Linked DNA regions of Homo sapiens: all the other regions are linked to region 1. The links are contacts of gene promoters, found by promoter capture Hi-C in human tissues and cell types (Jung and others, 2019). All regions are on one chromosome and are shown on one strand. The core of a region is centred on a gene start or on the middle of the fragment in contact, and the rest is flanking DNA. Distances in the headings are between cores, read along the strand shown.

Region 1 (3,930 bases), core at 680-3,179:
CAGTCTTCCCCTAGGGGTGCAGTGGTGGTTGGGAGAAATGAGGGCTCTGCCCATGACACCCAAAGTTGCCATCTACTGCAAGGGATGTATGTACCGGGTCGTGAGGTGAGACTGGGGATGGTCCTCATCCTGAGAGCAGTGGTGGATAGCCACATGTGAGATTAAAAAGACTACTCTGGGTGGCAGACAGGGGTGGGCAGAGATCTAAGACATTTAGGAGGTCCTGGGGGATTGGGGGGCACCATCCAGGTGGTGCCCTCCCTGGACAGGTCTGGGGGAAGGAGAAAGGTGATGGAATTTGATATGCCTATTCATGACCTCCATCCAGCTGAGGTGAGTGTCCCCTCCAGCCCAGGGGGTCAGTGCCTCTAAAGCCAGGAGCTGGGCTGGGACAGACCTTGCAGCCACTGGGACCTCTGCTGGCCTCTATTGGGAGCCGCAATCCGGATCCTCCGTGGGAGGGGCCCCAGCACTGGGAGGGCATTGCTGAGGTCAGGGCTGTGCCCAGGCTGAGCTGCCCAGAAGTGGTTGGCCTGTTTATTTGTCCCCAGGTAGTTGCATTCGTGTCCACACTAGTTCCACTTCTCTTTCAGCCCACCCCACCTCCCTCCTGCACCAGCATGGCTGAGTGAGGGGCCTGCTCCTCCCCATCCCACTCTCTGCCTGTGCCAGCCTGGTGATGCCCATGGCCTTGGGCCTTTCAGTGGCTCCTCCTCCAAGCCCCCTCCTCCAGCCCCACCCTTCGGGGCTATCTGGCCACACCTGGACAGAGTCTGCCTGCCCTCCCTCAGTGAGCCTGTGGGCCGCATGTGGCCTGCTCCCCAAAGAACGGAGGTGCCCGCTCCCTGCTTAGGCCTTCTGCCAGCTCTCAAGTCCCCAAAAGACAAACATCCTCACTAGGACCTGGCTACACACGGGACATTTGTGCTCCCTGCCCAACTTCCAGAGTCGGTCTGCCCCAGTTGCCCCCCGGGGACCCGCACCCTGCTGCCTCCCAGTCCAAGTCCAGCTTCCCCGCTGGCTCCCTAGGGCCTGTCCCTCTGTCTTGCTCCCTTCCCACACCTTCCTTCTGCTCTGTGCTGTTACCCACCTTACCTGATGCAGGAGTTCCCACTCTCTAGCCCCAGCCTCTCCTGGAAATCCGACAGCCAGCAGAATCCACCGCCCAGGCTCCCCCAGCCCCCTTCACTCCTCAACTAGGACTGCAGGGTTTCCATCCCGGGGGTCTCCTTCTGTCTTTACCTCTACTTCCTACCGCAGTCCACAGCCTGGCCATTCTACTTCCTCTGTATCTCTCCCATCCGTCCCTACGGAGACCCCTTCCCCCAGGCCTCTGGTCCGGACCGAGTCTACCACAGGCCTCAAGCATCCTGCTCGGTCCGCCCCTTGCGAGCTCTGAGTGCGCAGGAGTGCGCAGGGGGAGCTGACCGCACACCCCAGCACTACAAGGACTTCGCGGTGGGGTGCTGTGGAGTTGGCTTTCGGCCTCGACCTGGGCTGTCTGCGGGCCCCACTCCCTTGGCCGGTTCCGAGGCGCTGGGAGCGGGGGTGGGCTTGCGGAGTCGCGTCCGTGTCCCCGATCCGCCTTCCCGTCCCGGGCCTGGCCTACGCAGTGGGCGCGCAGGGGCGGCTGCTTCGGTAGATGTCTAGGGAGCGGAGGGAAAGGCGCGGGAACCGGGGATTCCTCGGGCGGACCCTCCCTCCACCAGCGCTCGGCGGGCCTCCTCCAAGTTCGCCCCCAAGTTTGCGAGCGGCCAAATGGGGGCGGGGGCTGCGCGGAGGGGCGGTGGCTAGGCCGGAGGGTGGGGTCTGGAGCGCGGGGCGGGCGCTGCCGCCTGGCCGGCCGCGGCTGGCCCGGGATCAGGGAGCCGATGTGGAATTTCCTGCCCGGCTCGGCGCCCCTCCTGCCGCCCCCCGCCCGGCCTCGCACTCCGCTTCCGGCCGCTCTCGCTGCGGCCGCACCCGCGCCCGTGCCCGCCCCGCGCCTGCCCCGCGCCTCATGGAGGGCGCAGGGCCCCGGGGGGCCGGGCCGGCGCGGCGCCGGGGAGCCGGGGGGCCGCCGTCACCGCTGCTGCCGTCGCTGCTGCTGCTGCTGCTGCTCTGGATGCTGCCGGACACCGTGGCGCCTCAGGAACTGAACCCTCGCGGCCGCAACGTGTGCCGTGCTCCCGGGTAGGAGCCGGCCTGGCTGGGGGAGGGGGCGAGAGGGACGCTCTGGGCAGTGGTGTGGCGGCGCCGGGCATTGGGAGGGGGCTACCGGAACCTTCCTACGCCAAGTGTGGGCCCCTTCGGCTCCCTAGCCAGCGCGGCTCCGTTCCAGGCCCAGCCTCGGCCATGGGCCACGACAGTGCATCCCAGGGAACCCTGGACGAGAAGTCACCTGAGGGGAGGATGGAGTGCCGTGGGCACCCAGGGGATGACACGCGTTGTCCGGGATATCAGGAAAGACCTGGAAAAAGGGACCCTTGACCGAGTTGTGAAGTCCACGGGGAAAAGCTGGGGAAGGGCATTCAAGCCAAAGGAACTGCATGTGCTAAAGCCCCGCACTAGTCCGACTGGAGCCGGGAGTGGGAGTGAGGAGGAAGGTCAGGGGAGGAGGAGCGGTGCTAGCCGGGGAGGTCCTGGAGCAAGCCAGACTTGGAAAGACAGATTCGCGTCTTAGAGCGGGCGCGGGTGGGAGGGTGGTGACCCAGGCGAGCGTCGAGGAGCCGGCGCTCGAAGTGGACCAGAAGCGGGAGGCGGAAGGACTATGACAGGCACAGGGGACCGGAGGATGTGGGAACCCTGGCGACAACCAGGTGGGGATTCTGGGTGCAAGAAGGGGCCGCGCAAATGTGGGGCGCCGGCTGGGGAAGCCAGTGTGGGACAGGCAGGCGACAGGCCCGGCCGGTGGGGGGGCGAGTCCGGGAGTTTGCACGGAGGGCAGAGAGGTGAGCCCCGGACGCCAGGAGTTAGGAGCTGGGGTCGGGGGAGCCGGTGGGCTGGCCAAAGGCCACAAGGTCAAGGGCATCTCCACGCAGGGGTGAGGAGCGGGCGTGTGGGGGCGCCTTGGCGCGGATTGGAGACGCCGCACGGGCTGGCAGCCGCAGAGGCGGCCGCCGGGCTCCGAGCTGGGTCGCGTCGGGGCGCCTGAGCCACGGACCCGGGGCAAGCCGAGTCCAGGGGCTCGGCGCCAGAGACAAGGGGCTGCGAGGGGGCAGCGCGGGGTTTCCGAACTCTGGTCCGGAGGCGCGCAGACCCCTCCCCGCTGCGAGCCCCGCCTCCGGGGCGGGGGCCGGCCTGGCCCGCCATCTGCTTCGCATCGATGCCGCCGCCGCGGACTCCCGGGCCTCCCCGGCCCCAGGAATGCAGCGGCGGCGGCGGGCGGGGCGGTGCCTGGAGAGGGGGAGGGCGCGATCGCCGTGGTCTCTGTCTACTCACTCCAGCCCTCTTTCCCAGACAGGCCCGGGACCAGGAATGGGGGTCCGGTGCCAGGCTCTAGCTGTCCGGAGCCTGAGAGCCCTTTGCTCCCGCTCCCCTGGTCTGCAGACCTCCCAGGAGGCGCCTGCTCCAGGAACCGAGCCTGGGTTTGGGTTCCCATCCTGGTGCCACCCTACCCAGCTGTGTGGACCTGGGCAAGTCATTTGACCTCTCTGGGCCTGTCTCCACCTCTGTAAAATGGGATAGTGATCACAACCCCCTCATGGGGCTAAGTGGAGATCGCTGTGGTCATGAGTGGCAAGGGTCGATGGGAAGGACAGCCACTCTGGGCACTGCCCACCTGGGGTCTGGGTCATGTCTTTGTTGTCCTCCCACATCTTGCAAGGCTTCCATCAGCCCTTCCCTTTCCTGGGAGGCAGGAGGATGGGGAGAGGAGAGTGCAAAGCCAGTAAAATCCTATGCACCTACACTGTGCCAGGCCTGTATTGGTGTAGGGAAGCTGCAGTGGAG
Region 2 (3,930 bases), core at 854-3,353, 110 kb before region 1:
CCCAACCTTCCTCCTGAGTCACTGTGACACTCAGAGTCCATCCACTACACTCATAAGATGGCAGGGCAGAGGGAAGGATGATGAAAAGTGGTCTCAGATGAGTGTAAAAATACAAAGACACTTTTGAAATCTTTATCATCCCACATCTATCTCCAAACTCTACCCCACTTCTTTTTTTCAGCTCGGGGAATTAGCACAGGACAACATGAAGAAGAAAGGCCCAGGGGAGAGGAAAAGCTGGGATAAGCAGCGAGGCCTGGCCAGAACAAGGGGACACCAAGGCAGTTCTGTCAACACGCCCAGCTTCCGGCTATCCCCATCAATTACTGATAGGAAAGCTGATGTGCGTGTGAAGGGGGCCCACAGGCAGCCTGTCCCTGAAGGACAGTGGTATGAGAATGGGGGCAATGGAGGTGTGGGAACCTGAGGACACTCAGGAACAGAAGCAAGGTGGCCATGTATGAGGGGAGAAGGGCCTGGGGGCCAGCCAGGTCAACACCTCACAGCTCCTAAGGCCCTGGACCATTTTTTAGGTCTGCGATACTTTAAATGAATTTGTTTTCTCCACATCCATAAAAGGTAAAACAAGGGGAAGTAGGTTTCAAAAGCAACAAGATACTTTTACTTAGACATAAGACACTCAAACAAGGCTCAGGACCATGTCACCAAAGCCCTTCTGCATAACACCAGGGCTGAGCAAGACCCACTGCCAGCCCAGCACCTGGAATGCAGTGGGCAGGCATCATCATCCTGCAGTGCCCAGCACCACTCCTGACCCACAGTAGGCGCAGCCACTGCCATCTGCTCCAGCTCTGCTACCAGACCAGCGTGAGGAGGCTTAGTGGGGAGCGGGGAGGGAGGGGACGCCTGATGTGAGAAACAAGCACAGGAAGCTGTCATGCTGCCAGCCAAGGAGCTTTCTTGTGGGCGATGATACTTCCTACATTCCCCCAAAGGCAGGTTTATCTAGGAACATCTAGGGGCTGAACGCAATGGGTCAACCACAACAACTCCTTTCCAGGGGAGAAAGCCCTGGATCTGAAACTGCGCCTCTGATCCCCCTGGCTGGGCTCTTTCACTCCTGACTCCTCACCATCCACCCCCACCCCCATCCAGATGGACAGATTATTATGCCCCTTTCTGCTCCAAAGCACACCAACTCCCCTAGAACTGCTGCAGAAAAAAGGGCTAAAGAGTCAGGAAACTCCCTATCTTCACTTGGTCTGCTCCAGCTCCCCTGCTGGCTATCAAAATATAAGTGTCCAGCTGTACCTGAGGCTGAGTATTACAAACCATAAACAATGAACATCATGACAGTAACAGCTAGCACTTGGCACTTTACAGTGCCAGACACAGGAGTCATCAATTCACATGCATTATCGCCTTGATTTCTCCCAACCACCCAGAGGCAGGTACTACTAACACATCCAGTTTACAGATAAGAAAACAGAAACCTTAAAAAACTCCATAGAGGCCAATCGTGGAGGCTCACATCTATTATTCCAACATTTTGGGAAGCCAAGGCAGGAGGGTCCCTTGAGGCCAGGAGTTTAAGACCAGCCTGGGCAACATAGTAAGACACCATCTCTACAAAACAAACAAACAAACAAACATTACCCTGGTGTGGTAGCACACGCCAGTGGCCTCAAAGTGGGAGGCTGAGGCTTGAGCCTGGGAGATCAATGCTGCAATGAGCTGTGACCACTCCACTGCACTCCAGCTTGGGCGACAGAGTGAGACCCCACCTCAAAAAGTTAAAAGCTTCATAGAATTTCCACACTTGCTTGACATGTGGAAATCTTGCACAAGTGCCTCACAACATATTGTGGAGTGAACACAAGGAAGGAGAAAGGATAGAAACACGTGCTCCGTGCCACATACACTGCATGACATACACCTTTTATATAAGACCTGTGGAACGTAAACACACATATTTGCTTAAATCTGCCATGAGAAACACTGGAAAGATACACCAAAATTGAAAATCGACAACCCAGCAAGTATCAGGAACTGGGCTGGAAATGTGCCCTCTCTAAATCCACAGTGTTATGGGTTTTCACTTCAGAAGCACATAAATCTTTTACTATTGAGAAGATAAAGCCAAATCAAGTCGGGCACCTTGGCTCACACCTGTAATCCCAGCACTTTGGGAGGCCAAGACAGGAGGATCACCTGAGGACAGGAATTCAAGACCAGCCTGGCCAACATGGTGAAACTCCATCTCTACTAAAAATACAAAAAAAATTAGCCAGGCCTGGTGGCGCATGCCGGTAATCCCAGCTACTTGGGAGGCTGAGGCAGGAGAATTGCTTGAACCCAGGAGGCAGAGGTTGCAGTGAGCCGCGATCACGCCACTGCACTCCAGCCTGGGCAACAAGAGTGAAAACTCTGTCTCAAAACAAAAAACAAAAAACAAAAAAAACAAATCAAAGCTAGGCACAGTGGCACAGTCTTGTAATCCCAGCTACTTGGAAGGATAAAGTAGGAGTATTGCTTACACCCAGGAGTTCAGCCTGGGCAACTCAGGGGCAACTCAGTGAATTTTATTTCTCTAAAAAATATATATATTTTTTGAGATGGGGTCTCACTCTGTCGCCCTGGCTGGAGTGCAGTGACGCGATCATCGCTCACTGCAGTTTCAACTTCCTGGGCTCAAGTGAGCCTCCCCACCTCAGCCTCCTGAGCAGCTGGGACTACATGCATGCAGTACCATGTCCAGCTAATTTATTTATTTATTTATTTTTATTTTTTAGATGGAGTCTCACTCTGTGGCCCAAGCTGGAGTGCAGTGGTGCAATCTCAGTTCACTGCAAGCTCCGCCTCCCGGGTGGTGCAAGCTATTCTCCTGCCTCAGCCTCCCAAGTAGCTGGCACTACAGGCGCCTGCCACCACGTCTGGCTAATTTTTTGTATTTTTTAGTGGAGACGGGGTTTCACTGTGTTAGCCAGGATGGTCTCGATCTCCTGACCTTCTGATCCGCCCACCTCAGCCTCCCAAAGTGCTGACATTACAAGCGTGAGCCACCACGCCTGGCCAATTTTTTGTATTTTTTGGAGAGACACGGTTTTGCCATGTTGGCCGGCTTGTCTTTTGCTCAGTCCCCAACCTCCAAAAGTGTTGGGATTACAGGTGTGAGTCACTGTAGCCAGCCTAAAATATTTTTCTAAAATGAAAAGTATAGCAAATCTAAAGAAAAAGGTCCAATTCCTAAACATTCCAAATAAACTAAAACAAATGAGCTGAATATTAAGTTGGTGGCAGAATCATATAGAGAAAAGAAATCTTTTGAGAGGCTTTTTAAAAAAATGAAACAAAAAGCAAAATGTTCTCAATAAAAGGGATACATTTTAAGGACAATTAGAACTTCAAGGTAATCTTAAATGTTTAGTCTACCTTTTGTTATCAGTGGTAATATAAACTGTTTATTCTGAAATGATTTTAAAGTAAAGCAACCAAGTATGCTAATAATATTAGAAACCAAGATATTCATAGTAACAGAAAAGACACATGTTTAAAATGAAAGAAGTAAAAACCCTATATATAAGTTTAAATTTGAATTAGAAATATTAGTGTAAAATTATGGGTTTTTGTTGTTGCTGTTATTTCAAAAACATGTTTTTTCTTAGTTCTGTTCACTGAAAGGCCCAAAGCAATGAACAGACCAGCGCCCACGTAGCATGCTCCAAATGCCACTTTACCGGCAGAAGTCCCCAGGGTTCACTCCCTAGAGGAGCAGCCAATCTGGGTCTAAATGCCAGCAGACTAAGAAAAACTAAAGAGGTTGTGTGAGGGCCCCAAGAGACACAGGAGCTCCTGCTAGATGAGGATGGGACCATCTAAGCATCAAAATGAATGACAGCAATGGACCAGAACACCCCAGATACACAGCCCTGAGCTCAAAATGTCACTCAAAGAGAACCCATCTGTGGC
Region 3 (3,930 bases), core at 378-2,877, 65 kb after region 1:
CTGCTTTCAGAATTCTTTGTCTTTAACTTTTGAAATTGATTATGATGTGTCTTGATGTGGGTTGCTTTAGATCAGTCTTATTGGTGTCCTTTGGGCTTCCTGGATGTGGATTTGTATTTCCTTCCCTGGGTTGGGAAGTTTTCAGTCATTATAGGTATGCGTTGCTTACCAACAGGGATACGTTCTGAAAATGCATCAGAAGGTGAATTTGTCATTGTGTGGACATCATGGAGTGCACTTACACAAACTTAGATGGGACAGCCTACTACACAGCTAGGCTGCATGCTATGGCCACTGTGCTCATGCGGTCTGCCATTGACTGAAATGTTGATCTGCAACTCGTGACTGTTATTTCTTTGGATAAGCTTTCCATCTCTTCTCACTCTCCTCCTTCTGGGACTCTGATAATGCCTATTTTGGTCGGCTTGATGTCCCCTAACTCTCTTAAGATATCTTCACTCTTTTTCATTCTTTTTCATTTTTGCTCCTCTGAATGATTTCCAGTGACCTATCTTCTAGTTTGCTAATCCTTTCTTCTGCTTGATTTAGTCTGTTGAGCTTCTCTTTTGAGCTCTTATTTCAGTTATTGTATTCTTCAGCTCTATTATTTCTTTTGAACTTTTTTCTGTCTCTTTGCTGAAATTCTTACTTTGTTCATGCATTGCTGTCCTAGACATGGTAAGCATCTTCATGATCATTATTTTGAATTGTCTGTAAGGTAAGTCACTTATCTTCATTTCACCGGGGGCATTTTCTGGAGATTTATCTTGTTCTTTTGCTTGGAACAGATTTCTCTGTTTCTTCATTGTTCTTGATTCTCTGTTATTTTCTGTACTTTAGTTAAGAAAAATACCTCTCCCAGGCTGGGCATCATGGCTCACACCTGTAATCCCAGCACTTTGGGAGGCTGAGGCGGGTAGATCATGAGGTCAGGAGATGGAGACCATCCTGGCTAACACGGTGAAACCCTGTCTCTACTAAAAATACAAAAAATTAGCTGGGCGTGGTGGCGGGTGCCTGTAGTCCCAGCTACTTGGGAGGCTGAGGCAGGAGAATGGCGTGAACCTGGGAGGTGGAGTTTGCAGTGAGCCGAGATCGAACCACTGCACTCCAGCCTGGGCCACAGAGCGAGACTCCGTCTCAAAAAAAAAAAAGAAAAATACCTCTCCCAGTCTTGTCCCACGGGCCTTGTATAAGAGACGAACTTACCAATTAGCCCTGCCAGACACTCGGAGCACCTCTTGACCTTTTGTGTTGTCCAAACTGTCATCTATGTTCTTAGCGGCCCTCAGGAGATTAGAATGTGTCATGTCCTGTCAGTGCCCCAGACAGGGGAGATAGAAACCAGCCCCTTGAGGTGCAGCTGGAGACGTTGGGGCATTAAATGTGTGTTCCAGTTTATTCTATCCTCAGGGAAAAGCTGGGAGCATGAGTTTATCTGCCACTCGCTCTGCAAAATGCTGGAGAGAGGATCTGTGGCAAGTGCCTGCACTCAAGTTTAAACTGCACACTCCTTCATGCATTGTTTTACTCTTTGTCACCCCCAGGGGCCTAGCAAATGCTGGCTGTTCTCTGCTTAGAGACGGACAGGTTAGTTGGAAGCTTGACGCTATCTGTTGAGCAAACCAGTGGGAGCAGCTGTGGAGGTGCTCACCTGCCTGTTCAGGGTCTCAGAGGAGCACTGGTTTCCTGCTCTGTCAGCTCCCAGATGCATAGAAACCCCAGGGCAGCAGCTGCACTGTGCAGACAAACTCCTTCTAGGGAGAAAGTAGGAGCCGGGCCTTTTTGCCTGTTCACGCTGCACTGGGCCTGGGGGGATGTTCTTTGGTCTCTGTGCCCCTGTGGGACTTACAAATACAGAGCCTTGTCAGCTCCCAAAGCTCGGTGGTTGAGGAGCTAGACCTTCATTTGAGAGGGGTAAATGTGTACTCAATGTGTGAAGTTAGAGACCTGATTTTACCATACAGCAGGGGGTGGGAGAAGGCATGGGACTTGCCCACAGGCCTGTCCAGACTCCTGGAAATCTATTGTTTACCTGCCTCATTGGCTCCAGGTGCAGGCCAGTTATTAATAGAAGCCCATCCCTCGGGCAACAGCTAGGAGAGCCCGCAGACATATCCTTCCAGGGAGGAACTGGGAGCCTGGCATTTCTGCCTGTTTGCTCTGTGCTGAGCACAGCTGCTGGAAGTGCTCACGTGCCCGTTTAAAACTGCCTCTTTGTCCTCTGTGGTCGCAGAGGATTCATAACTGCTAACCCATGTCTGCTCCCAGAGCTAGGTGACCCAGCAGCCAAGCCCTTGAGTGGGAACTGCAAAAGCTGGGGCTGCCTATGTGTGGTCCAAACCCTCCCCTCTCCAGGAGAAAGCTGGGAGTAGGGATTCCTTCCTCACAGTAAGGTACTGTGTCTGGGGTGGGGCTTGTGGTTCGAGTGTGTCTCAGCTTTTCCAACCGGTTGCGATGTGGGTGTTCTCCCCATTGCCCCCTGTGCAGGCCTCTCTCAGCTGGTTTCTGGGTTTCTTTCAGAGGGAGTTGATCTGTGTGTAGATGAGAGTTTTACCGTGTGTCCATGGGAGAAGGGGAGCACCAGGAGCCTCCTTCTCTACCATCTCGCTTGTGTCACCCTCTGTGATTCTTTTTATACATAGTTGAATTTGATTCACTAATATTTTGTTGAGGAATTTTGCATTTATGTTCACGGGAGATACTGGTTTTTAGGTTTTTTTCTTACAATGTCTGTCTGGTTTTGGTGTTAGGATAATGCTGGCCTCAGAGAATGAGTTAGGAAGTGTTCTCTCTGCTTTTGTCCTCTGGAAGAGGTTGTAGGGAATTGGTATAATTTTTCCCATAAATGTTTGGTAGAACCCATCGTTCACTAGTGAACCCATCTGGGTGTAACTGAGTACTCCCATTTTCTAAGAGATAGTTATATTAGTTTTCTTATTACTTTCTTTTCACTTCTCCTCTTCCCATCCCTCACCCCTCACCGCGGCCGTGTTTCCTGTTTCCTGTTAGCCCTTTAGAAATGCAAATATCACCTTTCGCCTACCCCTCTCCAGACATTCCCTGCTGGGCAAAAGGAAGAATCTGTAAATGGAGGTAGGCTGATGGAGGTTTGATTGAGAACAGGGCAAGATCTTCCAGCTGATCTTTCCTGAGACTTGGCAGTAGATTTGCAGCCCAAAGCATACCCACCAGGGAACTCTCCCTGCCAGGGGGTGGCTTCGAAACTTCCACCCTCTAGGGGTTTGTCTTTCACCCACTAGGAAGGCATGGAGAAAGCATGCCCACTCGGCCACTTTTCTGCCCGGAAAGGCGCCAACTCAGCTGCTGGGAACTTGATAACTGCCCGGTAGAAAACCGCCATTGCTCACTCCCCCCACCCCCACAACACACCTTATGAAAATGCCCCTCTCTCCTCCAAAGGAGAAATGGCACATTAAAAGGCAGGATGTGTCTTGCTCCTTGCCCCAGGCTGGCTTCAGAATAAGTTCACGTTTGTGTATAAAACCTTTTGTATCACATTTTTTTTTGTATCAGAGTTAGTTGAGCTCTACACGCAGTGAGCAGCTCCTCAGCTTTTCGCTGCATAGGTACTGTGTTCAGCTTTCCTTCCGTCCTCAGTCTGGAGAACCTCAACCAACCTAGCTCCAGGTTTATGGATTCTTTCTTTTGCCAGCTCTAATCTGCTATTGACCTCCTCTAGTACATTTTTCATTTCAGTTATGGTTCTCCTCAACTCAAGAATTTCTGCTTGGTTCTTCTTTTATAGTTTTTTCTTTATTGATACTTTTTATTTGGTGAGGCAGCATTTTCACACTTTCTTTTACATCTTTTGACATGGTTTTCTTTAGTTCTTTGAACATATTATAACGGCTAAAGTCTTTGTTTAGTAACGCCAACATCTAGGGCTTCTCAGTGGAAGGTTCTACG

Evidence for each region. The method cuts DNA at HindIII sites, captures the fragments that hold promoters and counts their contacts. A contact is called where the count stands out against the background at its distance.
Region 2: a contact is called between a fragment that was not itself captured here and the fragment with the promoter of SCARF2 in region 1, in 2 of the 25 tissues and cell types used here (lymphoblastoid cells and mesenchymal stem cells).
Region 3: a fragment that was not itself captured here is called in contact with the fragment with the promoter of SCARF2 in region 1 in 2 of the 25 tissues and cell types used here (liver and lymphoblastoid cells).

Annotation. Positions count from the first base shown.
Region 1 is chr22:20,435,824-20,439,753 of GRCh38, reverse strand. SCARF2 (scavenger receptor class F member 2) reads left to right here and starts at 1,929. Exons shown (of 11, transcript NM_182895.5): 1 at 1,929-2,172. The coding sequence starts at 2,000. LOC107985588 (a long non-coding RNA gene) reads right to left here and starts at 1,758. Exons shown (of 2, transcript XR_001755623.2): 1 at 1,243-1,758. The HindIII fragment of the contact is 17,878 bases long and covers 1-3,930 here.
Region 2 is chr22:20,546,643-20,550,572 of GRCh38, reverse strand. All of the region lies in intron 2 of MED15 (mediator complex subunit 15), which reads right to left. Among named protein-coding and RNA genes, the nearest start is that of MED15, 41 kb to the right of the region's middle. RefSeq lists enhancers at 350-1,340, 3,080-3,249. The HindIII fragment of the contact is 3,773 bases long and covers 217-3,930 here.
Region 3 is chr22:20,371,002-20,374,931 of GRCh38, reverse strand. It overlaps the pseudogene USP41P. Among named protein-coding and RNA genes, the nearest start is that of ZNF74, 21 kb to the left of the region's middle. RefSeq lists a cis regulatory region at 1,547 and an enhancer at 1,463-1,632. The HindIII fragment of the contact is 3,190 bases long and covers 33-3,222 here.